4 separate regions of the Homo sapiens genome follow, and regions 2, 3 and 4 are each linked to region 1. The links are contacts of gene promoters, found by promoter capture Hi-C in blood cells and fetal thymus (Javierre and others, 2016). All regions are on one chromosome and are shown on one strand. The core of a region is centred on a gene start or on the middle of the fragment in contact, and the rest is flanking DNA. Distances in the headings are between cores, read along the strand shown. Region 1 holds the start of MICAL3 (microtubule associated monooxygenase, calponin and LIM domain containing 3). Region 2 overlaps MICAL3 (microtubule associated monooxygenase, calponin and LIM domain containing 3). Region 3 overlaps MICAL3 (microtubule associated monooxygenase, calponin and LIM domain containing 3). Region 4 overlaps MICAL3 (microtubule associated monooxygenase, calponin and LIM domain containing 3).

Evidence for each region. The method cuts DNA at HindIII sites, captures the fragments that hold promoters and counts their contacts. A CHiCAGO score of 5 or more calls a contact.
Region 2: a contact is called between a fragment that was not itself captured here and the fragment with the promoter of MICAL3 in region 1, in 5 of 17 cell types (erythroblasts, megakaryocytes, naive CD4 T cells and 2 more). The highest score is 8.2, in erythroblasts.
Region 3: a fragment that was not itself captured here is called in contact with the fragment with the promoter of MICAL3 in region 1 in 15 of 17 cell types (naive CD8 T cells, naive CD4 T cells, megakaryocytes and 12 more); the score reaches 17.6 in naive CD8 T cells.
Region 4: a fragment that was not itself captured here is called in contact with the fragment with the promoter of MICAL3 in region 1 in 13 of 17 cell types (erythroblasts, total B cells, megakaryocytes and 10 more); the score reaches 9.2 in erythroblasts.

The regions. Positions count from the first base shown.
Region 1 is chr22:18,021,405-18,026,608 of GRCh38, reverse strand. It overlaps MICAL3 (microtubule associated monooxygenase, calponin and LIM domain containing 3), which reads left to right and starts at 2,048. Exons shown (of 32, transcript NM_015241.3): 1 at 2,048-2,328. RefSeq lists a silencer at 1,911-2,320. The HindIII fragment of the contact is 4,064 bases long and covers 754-4,817 here.
Region 2 is chr22:17,782,267-17,787,729 of GRCh38, reverse strand. MICAL3 (microtubule associated monooxygenase, calponin and LIM domain containing 3) reads left to right here. Exons shown (of 32, transcript NM_015241.3): 32 at 1-81. Among named protein-coding and RNA genes, the nearest start is that of LINC00528, 7.7 kb to the right of the region's middle. RefSeq lists enhancers at 1,068-1,117, 2,368-2,477, 1-2,819. The HindIII fragment of the contact is 752 bases long and covers 3,682-4,433 here.
Region 3 is chr22:17,838,042-17,843,450 of GRCh38, reverse strand. It overlaps MICAL3 (microtubule associated monooxygenase, calponin and LIM domain containing 3), which reads left to right. Exons shown (of 32, transcript NM_015241.3): 20 at 1,434-1,629. Among named protein-coding and RNA genes, the nearest start is that of LINC00528, 63 kb to the right of the region's middle. The HindIII fragment of the contact is 7,527 bases long and covers 1-5,123 here.
Region 4 is chr22:17,801,854-17,807,531 of GRCh38, reverse strand. All of the region lies in intron 29 of MICAL3 (microtubule associated monooxygenase, calponin and LIM domain containing 3), which reads left to right. Among named protein-coding and RNA genes, the nearest start is that of LINC00528, 27 kb to the right of the region's middle. RefSeq lists enhancers at 1,881-2,719, 2,720-3,560, 2,555-3,754. The HindIII fragment of the contact is 3,985 bases long and covers 626-4,610 here.

The sequences.
Region 1 (5,204 bases), core at 799-3,298:
TATGATAAAAATATTGTATGACATTTAAATTAATGTTTTTTAAAAATCCTCAAAGGAGGAAGAATTTCCCACAAAGTTATTTTTAACAAAAAGCAGGATGCACTTGTGTGTCTGTGTGTGTGTGTGTGTGGTTTTATCTCAACTTAGTTTAAAGCTAGAAAGCTAGAAAAAAGACTGGAAAGAAATATGAATATTACTAATGGCTTTCTCTAGGTGATGAGATTATGAATGCTTTTCTTCCTTTATGTTTCTATATTTTTCAGTTTTTCTAAAATAAACGTTTTCGCCTAGTGCAGTGGCTCATGCCTGTTATCCCAGCACTTTGGGAGGCTGATGAGGGCAGATCGCTTGAGCTCAGGAGTTTGAGACCAGCCTGGGCCATGTGGCAAAACCCCATCTCCACAAAAATTAGCTGGGTATGGTGGTGCATGCCTGTAGTCCCAGCTATGCAGGAGGCTGAGGCAGGAGAATCGCTTGAACTTGGGAGGCAGAGGTTGCAGTGAGCTGAAATTGCACCACTGCCCTCCAGCCTGGGCAATAGAGCAAGATCCTGACTCAAAAAAAAAAAAAAAACTCCAGCGTCAAAAATAAAATAAAATGAGAAGTAGGAGAAATTATTAGAGATTCTGGACCTTTTAGGGCATTTTTCCCTAATATCCACTCAGGCCGTGCCCAGATGGCCTTGCACCTTCAGCTGTGGCATCAAACAAAACTGGGAATTGCAGCTTTACCACTTATCTCGCTGCATAAGCTTCCACAAGCAAGTTACTTACTGTTTGTGCTTTTAGGTTCTTAATATGTAAAACAATGTTTTACATTAAAAATTAAATGAAATAGCTCCTGAAAAGCCCAGTCACATTGTCAGAGCTCAGTAAAAATGTGTTCCCTTATTCTAGTACTGGGGCAGAACACCTGCAGGTTTGTAGGTGGGGAGACAGTGGACAGAGTGGCTGGGTGATGAAGTGGGGCTCTAGAGGATGAGCAGAGATTGCCTCTGAGCCGACACCCTGGCCCTGTCAGTTCCCGTCCTCACATGATGGACATGAAGGGAACACGAATGAAGCAGATGATGATACGGTTAAGTAAATACCACCTGGGACCAGAGAGAGCCCTTCTCAAGGAGTCGCCAGCCCAGAGTCGGCCCTCTTCTGAGCTGGCCGGCTGGAGTCAATCTGCTTTGGACAACACAGCTTCAGATGGAGATAATACTGAGGCCAATGATCCTTGAAGACAAAATAATCTCTGGGCTTCTTTCTGCTCTGATTATAATGTTGCAATTATACTGAGCAGATGCTGATAGGAATTTGGTCAAATCCATCCCGTCTTCCATCTAACTTATTTTAGTGCCTGGTGGATTTCTGTCCAGCTCCACGGGCTGTGGCAATGCCGGGGCTGGCTGGAAGTGTGGAAGGGGCTGGCTGGAAGTGTGGAAGAGGCTGCCCGGGCTCCGGCATCAAGAGGTTTTCTCCGGTGGGGAGGAGTGCGCGATCTGATCCTTGGAGCGCTTGCAACTGTAGCCCTCCCCCAGGGCTCTGCGCTGATCTCCAGGGTCATCATCATAGTAACAGTAAGAACTTCATTTTATAGCATTTTTCAATCTGTAAGACAACGTCGTGTCCTTTATACCGTTGAAATTTCAATTTCACGACTACTCAGATGTTACGCGACTTGCTCAGTATCCAACACTTGGTTCCTTCACTGGCTCCCGGAGACCTGGGTGCTGAAGCCACTGCAAGGAGGTGTGTGCTCGAACACACAGCGAACACCGACTGCGTGGTTAGCAGGATTCGCTGGGGAAGAGGCCTCAGGAGAGTGCTGGAATTTCCAACCTTCGAGGTGCTAGTAACGTGTGTCGAGGAAGGGGTTGGAGAAGGGGAGAAAATGAAAAGAAGGGGAGAAAATGAAAAGATGGGGAGGAGGAGAAATGGTTTGGGTTTGGTTTTGGCTTGAGCCTCACCCAAGCGTCCCACGCCGCAGCTCCGCGGCCTCCTGGGGGCGCCCGCTCGCGTTGCCACGGCGCTCGCGCGGAGCCGCAGCCCGCCCAGCCAGCAGCGCGCGCTCCTGCAGCCCCGGCGGAGTCCCGGCGGGGAGCGCCCGCGTAGGCAGGCACCCGGGGCAGCCCTCCGTCCTCGCCGCGCGGCCTGAGAACCCCTGGGCCCTGGGCGAGGGGGCTGGGCTGTGCAGCCCCCGAGGCTAACTGGGCGGGATCGCAGCTGCAGGGGTTGTGCGAGCAGCCACGGCGGCACCTGTGCCCTGCGGGCACCCACCCTGCCCCTGCCGAGGCAGGCGCCCACCGCCGGCGGTGATGCGGCTGTGAAGCCCTAGTCGGTGAGTACCCTCCAGTCCCCCTGTGGGCGAGCGAATCTAAATGACAAGGTTATGTGTTTTGCTGGATGTCTTCTAAGAATCATTTATTTAGATTGCTTATGGTGGGGAAGCGTTTCCTTTGTGACATCTTTGTGTTTCTCGGATCTATTTCGTTTCCCTCTAAACGCAGCCCTCTCTCCCCTAGTGGGAAAGACACCCAGTATCCGTGTCTCGATCATCGCACGACACCCACCAGTGCGGATGCCACGTACCACACACTCCCCAGAGCCTGCCAGAGAGCAGGGCTGTCTCCCAGCCACGTCCACCCCATTTTCATTGTGCTTCTATCCCGCAGGCAAAGGAAGAGCGTACCCAGGCACCCCCGAGGTAGGCCAGGTGTCAGGACAGCCAGCAGGCCCTTGGCGAAGCCGGGTCCGCTCTGGCTAGCTCAGCGCGGTGAACCCATGAGCTCATTAGGAGCAGCGGCTGCTTTGCGCGGGGAACGCCGGTTTCCCTGCGGCAGAGGGGCCCTGCACCCGCCCGCGGCGCGCGGTGGTGGCCCAGGACCAGTGGCGCACACGCTTGCGCTCCCAGGCTGCAGGGCGCGCTGCGCCGGCGCAGCTCCCGGGCGTGTGCAACAAAAGGACGGCCAAGTTCATTCCCTCCTGGAAGCAGAGGGCGGGGCCGCATGACTTCTGGAGGCTGCATGTGTCTTAGAATCAAATGGTTATGACTCCATAGCAAAATGCTTTCTGTGTGTCAAGTCCTCTCCGTGCCTGCCAACCCCTTCCCTCCTCTCTCCTCCCTAAAATGCTTTCTTATTGGTCTGGCACTGTGATCAACTATTTAGAATTTTCATTGTAAAGAAATGAAAAAAGGGTGAAACCGAGACAAGCTGTAGGCTGAAAGGCTGGGCCCTGTGGTGCTATTCATTAGCTCTCAGGCCTGGCTGCTGGGGAGATTTTTAGAAATCCTGCTACCTGGGTCCAATCCCTGGAGATTCTGACTTAATTGGTCTGGGATATGGCCCAAACACTGGGATTTTTTAAATTTTCTTTTTGTGGGGAGGAGTGGTGGTGGGAAAATTTGGAGTGCATACTGGATTTTTTTTTTTTAACTTCCCAGGTGATTCTAATGAGCTAAGATGGCCACCCACCATTCTAATCAATCAGGGTGACATTTTTCCAGGTGAACTTGGTAATAGTTCAGTCTCTCAGGCTGCCGTTGGAGGGCAGGGTATGCAACTGTCATAAATGCCTACAAGCTACAGGCAAAGAGAGCTGGCAGGGCCTTGGGCTGCTCCAAGAAGCTCAGGATGAAGGCAGTGTCTCAAACGAGGGAGGGATCATCACTCTCGGAACAGGTCCCTTCACTAAATGAAGTGTTCTGATCTATATTCCAGGGCAAGGGGAAAGCAGATGCATACCTTTGCAAGTCTGTAGCATGAAAGCTGTGGCTCCCTGTACATTTGTGGACTTCATGGCTGCCTATGTACTAACCAGAGTCACATGTGTATATCCCCCCACCACCCACTCACTACAAGGAGAATGGACACTTAGAAAGCAGAAGAGGGGGCTGGGCGCAGAGGCTCAGGCCTGTAATCCCAGCACTTTGGGAGCCCGAGGTAGGCAGATCACTTGGGGCCAGGAGTTGGAGACCAGCCTGGCCAACATAGTGAAACTCAGTCTCTACTAAAAATACAAAAATTAACCAGGTGTGGTGGTGCATGCCTGTAGTCCCAGCTACTCGGGAGGCTGAGGCATGAGAATAGCTTGAGCCAGGGAGGTGGAGGTTGCAGTGAGCCAAGATCACACCACTGCACTCCAGCCTGGGTGACAGAGTAAGACTCTGTCTCAAAAGAAAAAAAAAAGGGTGGGGGTGCAGGTCGGAATGCAGTAGTCACTCTGGAGAAGGAAGAGGCAACAAATAAGATCACCTAGAAATTATAAAGTGTTATTATCCTTCTCAGGCCTAAAATCCTTCCACATGGCGAGTCCCTCGTAAGCCTATGGGAAATCCTAGAAACTTCCTCTCCCTGAAAATTGGAGTCCCAGGGTAAAATCTTCCCCACAGGTACTGTTGCAGACTGGGGGTGGGCGGCAAAAAGTTTCCTCTAACCCTTGCCTTCTAAAGTTACCATGAATGTTCATAAACACCAAGGCAGGTGGAGGCAGACACTCCACAGCGAGTTCACAATGACTAAGGGGCTCAAGGAAATTAGATAAGGTCTTAAAACTGGGGGTCTGAAATGTTAAAATTTTACATAAACTAGAAAATGTGATCTACCCACCTGGTGCCAGAACTTCACCAGGCACAGCTTCCTAATGACCTCGCTTTCATTTGGGTTAAGTAGAGAAGGGGTTAAGATCTCCTGCGAGATAGGTATAAATGATGGTACCATATCTTCTGAAACTCTTGGGCACGGCTCAGTCATACACCTCATAAATAGGCAAGGGGATTAAGATGTTGTTTAAAGCATACACAACCCACCCAATGTGGACAACAAAGCTTAATGTGCCAGGGCCACTGAGGGAGTGGCCAGGAAGGGTCTCCCTACCATAGAATGGCCACAGTCTCCCACATGGCCTACCAGATTGCTTGTCTCTGCATGCTCCTTTCTGCATTCCCACGCACTGACTACACACTCCCTCCCTCTCCCATGCCCCACTCCCTCCAAGCAACCCAAAACAGTTAGAACAACTTCCATCCTTCCCTTTAGTCTTTGCTTTTCTAGTCTGTGCATAGCCATGCATGCATCATTTTGTTCCTTCCTGGAGTCAGCCTGACCTCTTGAGACAATGCCTTCATTTCACCTGGGCCTCCCACAGGTTTCCCTAGTACTTACCTGGCTGAGCTGGGCGATGGGCATGCTTCACTCTCTTGGCTGAGCGGGAGCT
Region 2 (5,463 bases), core at 2,808-5,307, 240 kb after region 1:
AACATTTTTTTAAAGGTGGTAACATCTGACCCACAAAGGGAATGGGTCTGTTTTATGCAAAATAAAAGTTTTTCAAATAAATAGTGTGTTTCTTAAGTCATTTTACTGTATTTTTCAGGTGGATGGTGTAGGTGCAAGGTATGACGCATCTAGCTCGTGCCTGGGTGCGTGCAAGACGGTTTAAAGAATACATGGTTTTTTTTAAGTTCGTGCTTTTTTTTAGTCCTCCATAATATCCTGGCTCAGCCACAACTGCTGTCACTTGAGTAAATGTCTTAGGCAGCCAAGTTTGAGAAGCAGCCACTCTTCAGACGAAGCCCCAGTAGCTTCTGGAAGGGAAGTGTGCTCTTTGAATTGGAGATACTCTGAGTCAGGGTGATGCTGTGGTCCTGGCAGCCCTCCTTCCAGCCCTGCCTGGCTCTGTCCTGCAGCACAGCTGACCCGGGAGTCCATGGCATGGGGTCTGCAGCACCCACGCCTAAACCTTTCAGATGTTTCAACGATCTCGAGGTCATTCAGTGCGTAGGGTCACTGCTCGTTAGCCTGAAAATTGTCCCCAGGAGATTACAGGGAACAGTCCTGGCCAGCTCCTCTTTCTTTGTTCTAAGAAGCCTCCGAGGCACGCCCCAGCTGTCTCTCTAACCCCTCCCTCGGTGTGTTGCATTGTTGGGAGCACGGCTGACCCTGTGACCATCCAGGGGCGCCATGCAGGGAGGGAAAGACCGCAGCAGCTCTGTGCACGTGAGCCACACCGCCTACAGGCAGCTAGAAGCCACTCAGTGGAAGCTGGCTCCCAGTCCTTCCAGCTGCGTTCCCAGCTATTCCAGAACAAAGAAAGGCCTGGCTGGGACAAATGTGGGCGTGTCAGGTAGAACAGAGGACAAAAATGGATGAGCAGCTCAAAGTGCATATCCTGTGGCCCTAGAGGACATCCCGTACAAGGAGAGCTGGGTCACTTGCCTGTTGGGAAAGGAAATGGGGCTTGGTAGTCACCTGACCCCCAGGCTCTTGTTCCTCAGAAGGGCTTGCTTGTCAGAGCTGCACCAGGCAGCCTTGGGCTGCAGTTCACAGCCACCTCAGGTGGCAGGAAATGATAAGTATTGCTTTAGGGAGGACACCAGAAAGGAAGGCTGCTGGGCCAGGCCAGAGCCACTGTCAGAAGCACACAAAAAGGCCACACGCCGTGGCGCACGCCTGTAATCCCAGCACTTCTGGAGACCGAGGCATGAGGGTCACCTGAGGTCAGGAGTTCAAGACCAGCCTGGCCAATATGGCGAAACCACGTCTCTACTAAAAATACAAAAATTAGCTGGGTGTGGTGGCACACTGGAGAGCCTGAGGCAAGAGAATTGCTTGAACCTGGGAGGTGGAGGTTGCAGTGAGCCAAGATTGTGCCACTGCACCCTGGGTGACAGTGAGACTCTGTCAAAAAAAAAAAAAAAAAAGTATAGGCTCTATCATTTTTAAATTTTAAAAACTATTTTAAAACAAAAAACAAGAAGCTCTTCTTTCATGAACCACCACATCTTTAACAGCTCCAAAGTCCCTCCTGAACCCTGAATCCTCACATAGTCCCATCTTAAGAATCAGCCAAAAATGAAGGGACAAGACATGCCATTTTATTCCATTTTATAAGCTGGCCACACTGGCCCACGTGCTAGACCCTCCCCTCTTCGTGTCCCCTGCTCGGATGACCTCCCCAGTGATGCCCAGTGAGGAGGGTGAGGCCATACCACCCAAACACTGGCCGGGGGCCGGAGCCTCCTGCCGCACACAGCACAGGAGCCTATGAGACCAGGCCCGTGGCCCTCCCAACAGCCTGTGGCTGCTCAGCTTCACCAGGAGCTTTTTCAGCAGCCTCTTCGTGTGCCCCCTGCCCCAAGGTCTTCCTGCAGCGGGGGCTTTGCCGGGGAAGGCAGAGGAGTCCAGTTGCTGTGGGTAGGCCACATGTGCCACAGCCACACTGCCAGAGAAGCCACCTACTGCCAGGACGGAGGAGGAAGACAGTCCCTGTGCTGCACACACAGCCCCTTTTCATGCCCCCGCGGCGTCCGAGCCACAGAGTGCACATCCAGTACTGGAGCAGGCTGTTTCCAGCCGTGGGGCCCAGGGTGGGGCCAGGGTGGGGTGGCTCAGGACTAGGTGGATGGGGCTGAGGGCCTCCCTGGACAGTCAACACCTGAACCGTGGTGAGGCTGCCAGTATTGAGTGGTCCCCAAAGTAGCCAGGGATAGCATCCTCCAGACGCGTAGGTGCGTGTGGAGCTACCTCGCGCAGCTGTGTGACACGAGACTGACTGAAGCTGCTGGTGTCTGCCCACCCACAAGAGGGCGGCAGGGAGCACAAGTTAGGTGAGCACCAGCTCGGTGTCCTGGCGGGATGTGTTCCTGTCTCTTCCCCCGACGTCAGCCTGGTCACAGCACTCACCCGGCCGGCGCCTCGCATTCCTCCCACCGACTTGGGACTGCTGACCAACTTAGGATGGGGGAGCACGTGGGAAGGCTGGAGGTTCCGGAGTCGGGCCCCGTGTAGATGCACAGATGCCTCCTGATGGGAGAACCCTAGGAGGACTCGGGAGGCAGCCCCCTGCAGCTCGAGGCCAGCCTCCCTGTTTCACGAACTTGCTGGGCCCCCGTGGAGTCCGTGTTCCCAGAGGGTTCAGCCGGCCCCATTGCCCCAGCCACCCCTCCACCCAGGCAGCAGGTCAGAGCTGGTGTCCCAGCAGCAGCTCCAGGGACAGGCCACGGGTCCCTGGGTCTTCACAAGGCCATCGTCAAGGATGAGGGATTTGTCCAGATGGGTGCTGGAGTGTCAGCGTTGAGGGGCTGCTCAACCCACAGGCACCCGGCCCAGCAGGCGAGAGGAGCCTCTCAGTGGTCAGCCCCCATGAGTGTCCAGGGCCTGCCTTTCTTTTCTTTTTTCTTTTTTCTTTTTTTTTTTTTTGAGACAGAGTTTTGCTCTTGTTGCCCAGGCTGGAGTGCAATGGCGCGATCTCGGCTCACCACAACCTCCGCCTCCCAAGTTCAAGTGATTCTCCTGCCTCAGCCTCCTGAGTAGCTGGGATTACAGGCACACGCCACCATGCCCGGCTAATTTTGTATTTTTAGTAGAGATGCGGTTTCTCCATGTTGGTCAGGCTGATCTCGAACTCCCGACCTCAGGTGATCCGCCCACCTCAGCCTCCCAGAGTGCTGGGATTACAGGCGTGAGCCACTGCGCCCGGCCCAGGGCCTGCCCCTCTAGCCCCCGGTTGTCTCCCCGGCAGAGTGGCTGCCAGGTCTTTCTCGGGAGAAAAGGAGAGAGAGGCACCTGGCAGCCAGCAGCTCCCTTTCCCCAGTGGGTCTCACTTCTTTTAAAAATGTTTTTAGAGAATTAAATACCTTTCAAAAATGTATCTCGGACCAAACTTGTTCCCTCGGGGGGCTGGGATGCCTTCCACCCGGAGGCCCCAGCACAGGGACCACCTGCCCAGCCAGACCGCCTCAGCAGGCAGCTCCTGCAGGTCCCGACTCTCTCGGCTCCTCCATGGCCAGTCATTCCCGCCCGTCCCCTGCGCTCTGTGTCTGTAGCTGCTAAGTTGCCGCTGCTGGCTGGTAAGAGAATTCTTCCTGTCCTTCCCCTGGTGTGGCCATGTATTTTGACAAGAAAAGACAAGCAGGAAATTGTCTTTTTCCCCAAGCTTCTTGCCCACGTCAAGGGCAGGCCTGCTCCACCAGCATCTGCCAATGCTTTGTTATCTCGGAGCAATCGCGTGCAGCTAATGGGAGGGGTCTCTGCTGTTGGAGAGGGTGGGATGGGAGGAGTCTCAGAATCAAGATCCAGGCAAGATCAGGGATAAAAAATTGGAAACCCACTTATTTCAAGCCAGGATTGTGATAAGAAGGACTTTGGTGAACAGCCCTAGGGTGAGGCCCACAAGCAGAAGCAATCGGATGGCACCAAAGACAGCACCGGCCCCCAGAACCCTGCAGAGCCTTGAGTAAGCGGGGAAGGCTTGCTGGCCTTCCCAGGCATGAGCATCCTATCCCTGGCCCCAGGGAGGGGGTAGTCTCTGCTCCCACCAGGTCAAGGTTTGGAGGAGGGTGAAGAACTTCGTGCATGAGACAAGGGGCATCAGAACAAGGTCCACCCCCAGCCTCCTCCCCCTAGCACCATCCTTTCCTCCTCCCTGGAGAGTCCTCCAAGGCCCCGGGGAGAACTAAAGCACAGCCACGCTCTTGGCAAGGCACCATGGCAGCAGAGCACGTAGGCGTAAGCACATGCAGTAGAGAGATTTGGTGTAGAGAAATAGAGATTAAGTAGGGCTAAGGCAGCTATAAACGTCATAGTTTTAGATGCATTTTCAGGTGCCAAAGAATTGCCCTTGGCTTTGAGAGCTGGACGGTGAGCTCAGCTGGGGCTGGGAGCCGGTGGCACCGTGTAGTACTGAAGCTTTCCCACACAGGGCCCAGGGGTGGCAGCGCCCCATCCAGGGAAGTCCCCTGGGTGGATCCGCCATTCAAAACTTTCCTGTCCTTTTCCTCCACGCCAGCGGAGATACAGGCTAAGACTCCCTAATGCAGGATTTCCTTTGAGCATCATGTCGGCAAAGATTCCAAAATCTGAAAAATTGAAACACCTCTGGTCCCAAGCATTCTAGATAAAGGGATACACACCCACCTGAAGGCCCCCCCCCCCCGCTTCTCCATCAGCACCTCTAAAGATGATCCCAAGAGCCTTCATCCCTCTCTCCAGGAAGATCTTTTACTGGAGGCCACATGCCTGTGAGAACCAAGCGCTAGACCAGGCGTCTGCCTGGCTGGCTGATGCCGGGTGCGGCTCTCCAAGCCTGTTTCTACCTTTGAACCAGGAAAAGAACATCCACTTCTCTGCCCCGTAAACAGATCCTAGACGCTGAGCACTTTGGGTTTTGTGGGGTGCTGGGCCATCCCTCTGTGGCTGCCTGAGTTGGTCCCATACAGGCATCTCTTCCCTGAAGGCTGACCCGGCCCTGCCCACGGCACGCCTGGGAGCGGCTCCTGCCCAGGCCTATGGCCGGAAACGCCACAGTGGCTCCTCTGGCTGGCATGAACTTCACGATGACACCTGGGTCTCAGTGCAGTTTGTAGGAAAGGAAGGATGCCACGGGGTCAGATCGTGTGTGGGGGAGATTTGGTACAGAAGCGAACACAGGAATGAAGATGGCAGAAACGTCACGTAAGGCGAGGCGTGTGTCTGCTGGCCTCTCGCCTATCGCAGGTCTGAACTGCGCACAGCATAAGGCTGCAGTGCTGAGACTCAGCCCCTCCCCGGGGGGCCACAGCCTGGGCCGTTCACTCTGCACGTGGCAGTCTTGGTTTCTGCACCTTTGAGCAGAATGCTAGACACAGTGGTGGTTTGCCCTCTGCTCAATATCCCTCTAACAAATCACCATGCAAAACATTCCAGCTGGGCACAGCCACCCCACGCCGGGACCCCCACACC
Region 3 (5,409 bases), core at 111-2,610, 180 kb after region 1:
ATGAGGAAATCTGACCTGGGGTTGCCCGCCTCCACCTGGACCCGGTGCTACTCACATTACAGGGGACACACCAGAGGACTCATGACAGCCTCCTCTGACCAGGATCAGGAGGACAAGGGACGTCAACAGAGAATAGTGGTGATGATAAGGGAGGCAGCAGAACTGTTCCATGTTAAAGGAGACCAAAGCACAGTTGTAAAACACATTTTCAAAAATCCGAGTCCATAGCAGTACTTGAAAGTATAAAGTTAAAAATGGGAAAAGTGCTTCTTTACCAAAGAATGGTAGTGGAGGAGGAGTGATGGGATTTTTTTTTTTTTTTTTTTTTTTGAGATGAAGTCTCGCTTTGTCACCCAGGCTGGAGTGCAGTGGCGCAATCTCGGTTCACTGCAAGCTCCGCCTCCCAGGTTCACACCATTCTCCTGCTTCAGCCTCCCGAGTAGCTGGGACTACAGGCGCCCGCCACCGTGCCTGGTTAATTTTTTGTATTTTTAGTAGAGATGGGGTCTCACTGTGTTAGCCAGGATGGCCTTGATCTGCTGACCTCGTGATCCACCTGCATCGGCCTCCCCAAGTGCTGGGATTACAGGCGTGAGCCACCGCACCCAGCCAGAGTGATGGGATTTTAAAATCACCTGGTGTGACGCCCTGTGCACACAAAGGACTCCGGCCAAGATCGCCGACGATGCTGAAACCACAGGGTGAAAGGACGCAGGCAGGGCACCCCGTGGCTTCAGAAGCCCACGGAGGACTGATGGGGAAGTGTGCCTGTGCATCGCAGAGAGGCCTGGGTGCCACCTCTGTGAGCGGTCGGGCCTGGTGTCCTTCCTCTGAGCAGCGGTGCTGCGGTAGGGGCAGCATCGCCCACGTGGCCTTATGAAACCGAAAGTGCCTTATCTAACTGTGAGGAGACAGATCCGCAGCATGAGACGTTCTTCAGGCAGCTGGCCAGGCCCCCTCAGTGGTGGGGCACGTGCCTGGTGGGGACTTGGATCCCGGGGCAGGCATTGGGGGAGGCACCTGGTGGGGGCCTGGATCCCTGGGGCAGACTGCACCGGGGATGCCCTTCTCAGGCAAGGCTGCTTCAGGGGCACCTGGCTCCTGGCTGCCTGCGGTCTGGCCCACACCCCTCACCACCAGTCACTCTTGTGGGGAGACTGCGTCTCCCCTCTGGGGGCCGGGTTCAGGGTGATGAAGGAGAGAGAACGCTCTGACCTGGAGGGCAGACAGGGCCACCTTCCTTTCTCCTGCAGAGTGAAATTCCCTCTCACATGCCAGGGTCCTTCTCTGGCCTCTGGCAACTCTGCAAATGCTCTGACCTTTGTCCTGCCCCACATTCTGGCAGGAGGGCCTGCAGCCTGGGTGTCAGCCCCCACCCCCACGCCCCGTCTGTGGTTGGACCTCAGTGCAGTGCTTCTGTGCTTGTCCCGCAGGTTCAGGCGTGAACGGCCTGGAGGAGCCCAGCATCGCCAAGCGACTGAGGGGCACCCCAGAGCGGATCGAGCTGGAGAACTACCGCCTGTCCCTGAGGCAGGCTGAGGCACTGCAGGAGGTACCGGAGGAGACTCAGGCCGAGCACAACCTGAGCAGCGTGCTGGACACGGGCGCCGAGGAGGACGTCGCCAGCAGGTCAGCACGCAGGGCTGCAGGGCGCCCACCCGCCACACGGCCCTAAGAGCCTCCTCACCTCTGTGTGTCTCGGTTTCTTCTCAGTGAAGGGAGGCCTCCTGTCTTTCCTGCTGCCCGCAGTCCATTCTCCCCAGTCCCTTTTAGGTTCTTAGCCTCATCTTCTAGTCAGTGAGGACTCCTCCATCAGACTCAATTCAGAGATTCAGGAAGTATTTATTCCTTGAGGACCTGACATGTCCCCAGCTCCAAGTCTGTCATTGGGAAGGAAAGTGGCAGGCTCTGCCCCCGGGTTATTCACAGATTCAGCAGAGGGAAGGACGGGCACACGGGGAGGGACTCTGGGTGATTCAGCCACCAGTGCACCGGGCCGTCTTGAGGGAGGCCTAGTCCGTCCCCCAGGCATCTTTTTTTCTCCTGTAGGTAAAGAAAGGGACTGAAAATGTGTGCCCCAGGGGCCGCATGCAGCACCAGTGGATGCATGCTTAGGCAGTTCCAGAGCTGTAATCACATCCAGCTGGGTGACACCTTTGGGGATGTGCATGCTATAACCCTAGGACTCCCTATATCCACTGCCCTGCACCCCAGGGCTTCCAGTATCAGCGAAGGCTTCAAAGTGTTCAGCCGATTACAGATGATCAAGAGAGCCAAGAATCAAAAGGGGGTCCGGTGTCCTGTGGGGCTTCAGGACAGAAACACAGGCTGCAAACCCGAGGGGCAGAGGCCTCAAGTGGCCTTGGAGAGCATTTGAATCACACACCTTGATTTAGCCATGATGAAGGGAACATGTGGGGATAAGGAGAGCAGAGCAGTTTTTTTAAGGTCCAAGAACGCTTTCCAGAAGGTGTTTGCTGGGCCGAGCTGCTTTCAGCTGCACCCGCCACCTCAGCCCTCATGTCAGACACCCTCTGCCTAGATTCATTCTTGGGCTGCCTCACAGACCGCTCCTCCGTGCATGCCGGGGGCAGCCTCTGCCTTGGTGTCTGCAGTTCCAAAGCTGTCACTGATGGTGCATCCTCATCCAGAACTCTGCTTCCCTATCCAGAGCACCCATGGAGGCCCCACTCTCCCCACTGTGCCCAGATGAGGGGGAGCCCACTCTCTCTCTCCACTGACCCTGCAGTGAGGGTGAGAGATGCTGTGTGTCAAAACACATTTATAAACCCTTGAGCAGAGCTACTGGCTTGACCTTGGGCTGAGTGTGGGTCAGCACCATTTTCTCCACTGTAATTTATAAATTGTGAGAGGCAGTGGGGCAGCAAGTTCATGTAATGTAGCAAGGACATTCCAGGAAGGCTAACCCCTGGCATTTATGGCAGGTATGACAGGAGGGCAGCACAGAAAACATGAAATCAGTCAGCATCTATGCAATGCAATACATGCCTCATCTTACTCAGATTGAAGTTAAAAAAAGATTTTAAAACTAGCATTCATGCTGGGCGCAGTGGCTCATGCCTGTAATCCCAGCACTTTGGGAGGCCAAGGTGGGCACATCACTTAAGGTCAGGAGTTCAAGACCAGCCTGGCCAACATAATGAAACCCTGTCTCTACTAAAAATACAAAAATTAGCTGGGCATGGTGGTGCACACCTGTAATCCCAGCTACTTGGGAGGGTAAGGCATGAGAATTGCTTGAACCTGGGAGGCGGAGGTTGCAGCGAGCCGAGATCATGCCACTGCACCACTGCACTCCAGCCTGTGTGACAGAATGAGACTCCATCTCAAAAAAAATTAAAATTAAAATCAAAAAATAAAATAAAGGCCAGGCACGGTGGCTCACACAGGAGAATCACTTGAACCTGGGAGGCGGAGGTTGCAGTGATCTGAGATCACACCAGTACACTCCAGCCTGGGAGATGGTGAGACTCCGTCTCAAAAAAAAAAAAAAAAAAAAAAAGATAATTAAAAGTAGCATTCAGTGCTATACAGAATGAAAAACAGTCTCTTAAAAGTGAAGAGCCGGGTGCGGTGGCTCACGCCTGTAATCCCAACGCTTTGGGAGGCTGAGGTGGGCGGATCACTTGAGGCCAAAAGTTCGAGACCAGCCTGGCCAACATGGTGAAACCCCATCTTTACTAAAAATACAAAAAATTAGCCGGGCATGGTGGCGGTCGCCTGTAATCCCAGTTACTCGGGAGGCTGAGGCAGGAGAATCACTGGAACCCAGAAGGCAGAGGTTGCAGTGAGCCAAGATCGTGCCATCAAACTCCAGCCTAGGCAACAAGAGCGAAACTGCATCTTAAAAAAAAAAAAAAAAGGGAAGAGCCCAGCTAGGTGTGGTGGCTCATGCCTGTAATCCCAGCACTTTGGGAGGCTGGGGTAGGCAGATCACTTGAAGTCAGGAGTTCAAGACCAGCCTGGCCAACATGGTGAAACCCTGTCTCTACTAAAAATACAAAAACTTGCCAGGTGTGGTGGCACGCACCTGTAATCCCAGCTACTCAGGAGGCTGAGGCAGGAGAATCGCTTGAACCCAGGAGGCAGAGGTTGCCGTCAGCCAGATTGTGCCACTGCACTCCAGCCTGGGCAACAGAGGGAGACTTCGTCTCAAAAAAAAAAAAAAAAATGAAGAGCCCGGCCTGGTGCGGTAGCTCATGCCTGTAATCCCAGTACTCCGGGAGGCCAAAGCAGGCAGATCACCTGAGCCCAGGAGTTTGAGAGCAGCAGTAACATGATGAAACCCCGTCTCTACAAAAAATATGAAAATTATCCGGACCTGCCTGTAATCCCAACTACTCAGGAGGCTGAGGCAGGAGAACCACTTGAACCAGGGAGGCAGAAGTTACAGTGAGCCAGGATCATGCCATTGCAATCCAGCCTGTGAGACAGAGCAAGACCCTGTCTCAAAAAAAAAAAAAAAAAAAAAAAAGCATCTAGGGGAAGGAGCTATAAATGTTGTCTTACTTCCCTGGGTGGCCGTAGGACACAGGACGGGAAGTGCGTGGTGTTTTTCTCTGTCTTCCCTACAGCACCAAGCACAGAATTGGGTGCCTTTCCAGCCGTCGGTCCTTCCTTGCTGAGATGTTAGACTGGAAGATGAGAAATGGCATCATTTTAAGGCATTAACCGTTCCAGCCAAGGAACTCTCATTTCACAAGTTCAGTGAACTCTTAACTTTGGCCTCTGCTGCAGGGGACAGCAGCGTGATGTTTCAGAACCTGACTTTGGAGTCAAACAAAGCCTGGATTTGAAGCCCAGTTCTGCCACCTGCTAGCTGTTGGCAATTTACTTAACCTCTCCCTGCTTCAGTTTCCTCATCTGCAAAGGTGCTGCACTTCATAGGTTTGTTTTGAGGATTAAGTCGTATAAAGCACGGACGAAGCCTTGATGCCCGGAGTTACTGCTCCTGTTACTCTCCTGGTACAGCACAGGTCTCCCTCACCACAGGGCCAGGGGCAGGGCCAGGCAGCCTTGTATTGGTTTCCTTAAACGGGGTTGATGCCGGGACTTGGGTTTGGCTCAAGCTCACCCTGTCCGAGAATGTTGGTAACCAAGCTTTCCCATGCCAGAGTCACCCAGGGCTTGTGATGAAAGCACAACACGTTGGGCTGAGTTTCTGATTCAGCGCCTCTGGGGTAAAGCCCCAGAATTTTTAGTTCTCAAAAGTTCCCAGGTGATGCTGTGGTCCAAAGACCACAATTTGAGAAACACCACTTTAATGTTTCTAAATTTCTCTGATAATAAACATCACCTGGGATGCTTGGCTAAAAATATAATTGCAGCCAGGCATGGTGGCTCACACCCGTAATCCCAGCACTGTGGGAGGCCAAGGCAGGAGGATTG
Region 4 (5,678 bases), core at 1,369-3,868, 220 kb after region 1:
TTGGGCTCACCTGATGCTGTTAATGCATGAAGTCCAGGCTACCAAAGGAAATGCAAAAACTTGAAGCACTTAGCATCCGATAGGCTGAGACGACTGGGATGTGTTACTGTGAGACAAGCACAGCAAGGAGATTTGGGTTCACCTAAGAAGGTCTGAGGTTTCCCAGCGAACCTGCGGTGCCCCTGCCCCCCTGCCCTGCTCTGCGCACTCTGATTTGGCCTCCTCAGTTAAGCCTGAGCCCAGATGGAGTTGGCCCCAGCCCACCTGTGCCCGACTGCGTCCGGGCCTATGGGGCCCTGCCCTCGTGCCATTTCTCTTCTTGCAGAAGATATCAGGAGAGAGCCTAGGCTCATCTTCATTCCTTCTTGCCCTTCTCCACAAATCACTTCTGCCAAGATGGAAAGCAGTGGATTAGATCTCAACACACAGACAGAATAACCGCATTTCATGGTTTAAGCCCTTCAGGAAGAAGACAGCTCCCTGCCCTCCTTACTCATGAGGTTGAGGTGGTGGTGCCATCAAGGTTGGTGGTTTCCGTAAAGCACTTGAGCGCCTGTGGCCTCCGTGAAGTCTGAGTGTAAAACAGTGCTTCGACGCCCCTGTCACGGGCCCTGTTATTCAAGCTTCTGCCAAAGGGCCGGAAAATAATATACCACTGAAGATTGGCGTTAGGGTTTTGCCAGAATTATTTCTTCTAGTCATTAGATAATCACATTTCCTCAAACATACACAACCCAAATGCCGTCTAAGTCAGTGGTTTTCAAAAAACTAGCAGCAGACCTCTTTTCACAAGATGATAAGTTCAAGTTTAAAATCAAAAAGAATTACTCTCAAATGTTAATAATTAACACAGATTTGAAAACACAGGTTATAGCAGAGAGTGGTGGACATGACCAAGCCCCGGCATCCAGCCAGTACACACAAGAACTGTAGTTGCTATAAGTGACAACATGGTTTTTTTTATTTGGTTGGTTTTTGGTTTTTTTAACAGCTTACTTGGAAATCTCAGGATTTCTGCAGTTTAAATGATGTAGACACTAGAAGTTTAAAATGAGGCAAGAGCTTTTTTTTTTTTTTTTCCACAGTTGGATCACAGCAAATCTAACAGCAGTTCCTATTCCTCATGACAAGCAAGTCTCAAACAAGAGGCTCCCAAACAAAGTAAACAAAAACCCAGCCATGCTGTAATACCGCAGCAAAACGTGTTACCCACCTACATAAAGGGACTCGCTGACAGGCGTGCGTGCTGTCAGTGAGCTGTAGCTCTCCCGGACAGACCCTGAACGGTGGCAGGTGAGCACTATGCTGCAGGCCAGAATTTAAATAAACAAATGAATAAAATGTCCTCTTCACTAACACATTTACAGGGAGTTCAGCCACTTACACACAGAGAGAGGCGGAAACTTGATCCTGAGGGCTCCACAAAATCAAGCTCACCTGGCAGCACAAATTATTGGGTTGATGGTCTCCAGTGGGTGAAAAGTTGGCATATAAAACATTTGGGCCGGGCGCGGTGGCTCACGCCTGTAATCCCAACACTTTGGGAGGCCGAGGTGGGCGGATCACCTGAGGCCGGGAGTTTGAGACCAGCCTGACCAACATGGAGAAACCCTGTCTCTACTAAAAATACAAAAAATTAGCCTGGCATGGTGGTACATGCCTGTAATCCCAGCTACTCGGGAGGCTGAGGCAGGAGAATCGCTTGAACCTGGGAGGTGGAGGTTGCGGTGAGCCGAGATCACGCCATTGCAGTCCAACCTGGGCAACAAGAGCGAAACTCTGTCTCAAAAACAAAAACATTTGAAGGTGGTGTGTCTTATTTTAATAAGGGCTCTTGAAAGAGCTACAAGTATTTGTACATCAGGTATTTGGGAGACCCCTTGGAATGCCTTTGGAAGAACCTTAGGGTTCCACAGAGGCTTGAAAACCACTGTCGTAGTGCAAACTCCTTCCTTTAGATGAGTCTTCAGCAGATATCTCTATCCAAAGATGTTTCTGTTCTGTTTTTCAAGATGGGCCTTAGTAGCTCTGTTGGGATATTTCGTTGTGATGCATTTGAGAAACTCTCTGGAATTTTCAGGAATTATGGTTCCTACCATAAGAATATAAGAATTTCCAAATATGTTCCTTCTCTTACGTGAATACATCCCTTCCAAGCTGGTCTCCCATCACAGTTCCCCGTGGCCCTGCCCCTCCTTGGCCGATGCCGTCTCTGAAGCCCAGGTGTGCGTGCTGCTGCTGCTTTCTCTCCTGCTTCTGCGTCCCGTTCCTCTTCTTAGTCTTGTGGCACCTGGCTGAGCCCTGAAGAAGGCAGTGGCAGCTGGGCATGATAATAATCTGGAGTCTTCTCATCATGGCAGTCTGCCCTTCCCTGGGGACTGTAGTAAACTGGCTGGAACCTGCCATCATCTCACTTGGGGGTCTCCAGCTTCCATCACCGTCTGAGGGCGTCAGACTTTGTTAGCCAAGCTGCCTTTCCAGAGAAGCGCTCTAGCATGGACCTGCCATCCCGTTCTCCGTTTGTCTAAGGTATGACGACGTATGGCCAGGCTGCAAGGATTAGCTTCAGCACCTTTGATCCTAGGGCCAGGCCACAACTTAGGTAATTTCCAGTCCTGGGGCACCTGGGAAGCCTTTTTGTTACAAAAACACTGACTCAGCCTTGAGCATGCATTGAAAAACTGGGGCAGGACCGCATTCTACCACTGTGTCTGCTGTGTCACTCTCAAGGGGAGGCCCTCAGGTGGGACCGGAGGCTGTGAGGATCTGCATTCAGAATGCGGGGTTTGGAGAGAGGGCAACACCATGGCGGCCGAGTGCTGTGCTCTGTGTGTCTTTATGATTCTGGGGAGATGAGGACCGCCTGCTCAAGCCCAGCCTCTCGGCAGTGCCCAGTCTGCATCTCAGGCGTGGAAATTACATAGCGCTCTTGGCCAGACAGCTGTGGAACTACCAGGCTAGGAGTGCCCCAGGCCAGCACACCTCCAGGAGCCTTCGGCCGAGTGCCTGGGGGAAGAACTCTGCATGAGTCTCTGCTCGTTTCCTGTTGTTAAGAAGGCCGACTGAATTTGGAGGCCTAAGCCTCGAAACAGGATCCCCTTTCTCTCAAACCCATTCGGCAAAAGTGGGTCTGCAAGGCATTTGATAGAGTCAGCAGTGGGGTCGTGGGAATTCCTGGGAGAGCACTGACTGCACGAAACCTAAGGATTTCAGAGCTTCTGTAGGACGTTTGCCTCCTGCCTCCAGGCCCTCAGCCTGGGGCTTCCAGTATCAGCAACTGACACGCAGGCAGCCCCGCTCTATTAACTCTTAGTTAGAGAAGGTTCAGTCCCAGGGGCAGGAGTTCCCAGCAAAGCCAAAGCCTCTGTCCTGGCTGATCCCTGGTGTACGTGGGATCATGTTGATAGTGACCATTGACTCCCCACAGTGAGTTTTAGTTACCGCCCTCCTCCCGCAGCCACGCAGTATGCAGATACGGCATGTGTGGACATGCAGTATGTGATGCACTTAGGCACGCATGCCTTCCAGCCGTTCCTCTGCCGCCTCGCTGTGTCTGTGTTTCTTGCGCTCCATATCATTGATTGCTCCATATCATATCATTGATTGGGTATGGGGGGACAGGAGGACTACCTGATGGAATAACTCTCTCTTCACCGATTCCTTGTTGTAGACTATTGGGGAGAGTCTTATTACAGTGACCTCATCGACTTGCATCTGGGTGGTATGTATGGCAGCGCCTGTGCTGACACTAACCCCGCTGACGCCCTTTCTCCACCCACGCTTCCCAGTCCCTGCTCACAAAAACAAGGAGAAATCAACCCAATAACCAAATGGCAAAAGCACAGACCCTTTTCCAGCTCAAAACAGAGCAGCGTGCTGATCTCCCCGCTGCCCACATGTGCTCCAGAGGAAGATCTGAGCTTGCTTTTGCTGCCTGGGGTCGTTTTTAATTTTTTATAATAAAACTTTGCCCACCCGACTCCACCAGCCTTGCATCTGCGTCCTGGTCCCCTAAATACACACACTCCAACACAGCTTTTGCCCTGAATCTCATCCCTCACTGCTTGTAGGAATCATATCTGCTAGGGAGCTCACTGCCTGCCACACTTACGCAAAGAAGCAAACATGCCAAGATCTCAGCCCGACCATTTTCACTGGGTCGTGGTCTCGTTTCTCCCAGAAGAGCTGAGTGCGAGGGAAAGGCTTCTCTGTAGTGATTTCTGCCCGGAGTCACCAAACTCAAAGCCAGGTTGACGGGTGCCCATAACAACGTCCCTCCCTCCTTGCTCTGTCCTGGGGCTCACTTTGTACTTCTTTTCAGTGAAGACAGGAAAAGCTCCAGGCCGTGGTTCTCAAAGTGTGGTCCCTGGACCAGCAGCAACATCACCTAGGAGCCTGTTAGGAAGGCACAGCCTCAGGCCCTGCCCCAGACCTGCAGAATCAGAAACTCTGGGGTGAGGCCTGGTTATCTGCTGTAACAGACCTTCCAGTGGGTTCTGATGCCCTCTAGAGCAGGAGAACCACTAGCTTAGAGGTTGCAGTATGTTTGGCATCTTGCCATTTGTGTTAGTTCAGAGGAATGGCTGACCCCCATGTCTCATTTCTAAGCTTCAGGCAGCTTTTCTCCTGGGCAGCTGTCATTCTGTTGAGGGGAATCCTGGGGACTGTGGCTCCTCCTCCCTGTCCGTGTGTCCTTGATCTGGCAGTCTACCCCCTTCATCTCCCCGTGGAGGCTCCATGCCTAGAGGTGGTCTTCAAACAGAAGAATGGCAAAGATAATTGTCTCGTGTTTTACCCTGACCCCATTCCTTTAAGAGGGTCACTTCTTGGCCCATTCATTTAAAAACCAATGTCATAGTTCTGTGATTCCACCTATCAGACAGTGCCACGTCCAAGGCGGGGCTCTCACCTCCCTGGGAAGAGAGACTGTTGCTGTCTGTGCTTCCTGTGTTCTCCAGTCCCACGCTCCCACGGACCCACGCCCTTGGAGACTCCCTCAGTGTCCCAGGGCTTCTGGTGTGTTCAGAGACCTCCACACTCAACGACCACTGGTGCTGCAGAAGGGCCGGTGCTTACATTCCAATTAACAGACGCTTTTCCCATCTAATGCCTCTTGCCTTCTCCTAACACCACCTCGGGAGTGTTTATGTCTATTCTAAGTGAATTTCACTGTGTGAAAAAATTCACACCTGTTATCCCAGCAATTTGGGAGGCCAAGGCAGGTGTATCATTTGAGCCCAGGAGTTTGAAACTAGCCTGGGCAAGATGGTGAAACCCCGTCTCTATAAAGAAATTTTAAAAATTAGCTGGGCATAGTGGCACGTGCCTGTAGTTCCATCTACTAGGGAGGCTAAGGTGGGAGGATCACATGAGCCCAGGAGTTTGAGGCTGCAGTGAGCTGTGATCGCAGCACTGCACTCCAGTCTGGGCAACAAAGCAAAACCCTGTCTCTTAAAAAAAAAAAAAAAAATTGTTTACATTCAGAATCTCCTGGAAGGGGCCGTCAGAACGCGTTTCTTTAGGATTGTATCCACACTTCCCTCCCAGTTCAAGATGCCGGTAACACACCATCGCATCTCCTGCTTTCTTTGTTTTTTGGGTTTTTTGTTGTTGTTGTTGTTGTTTGTTTGTTTTTTTTGAGATGGAGTCTCGCTCTGTCGCCCAGGCTGGAATGCAGT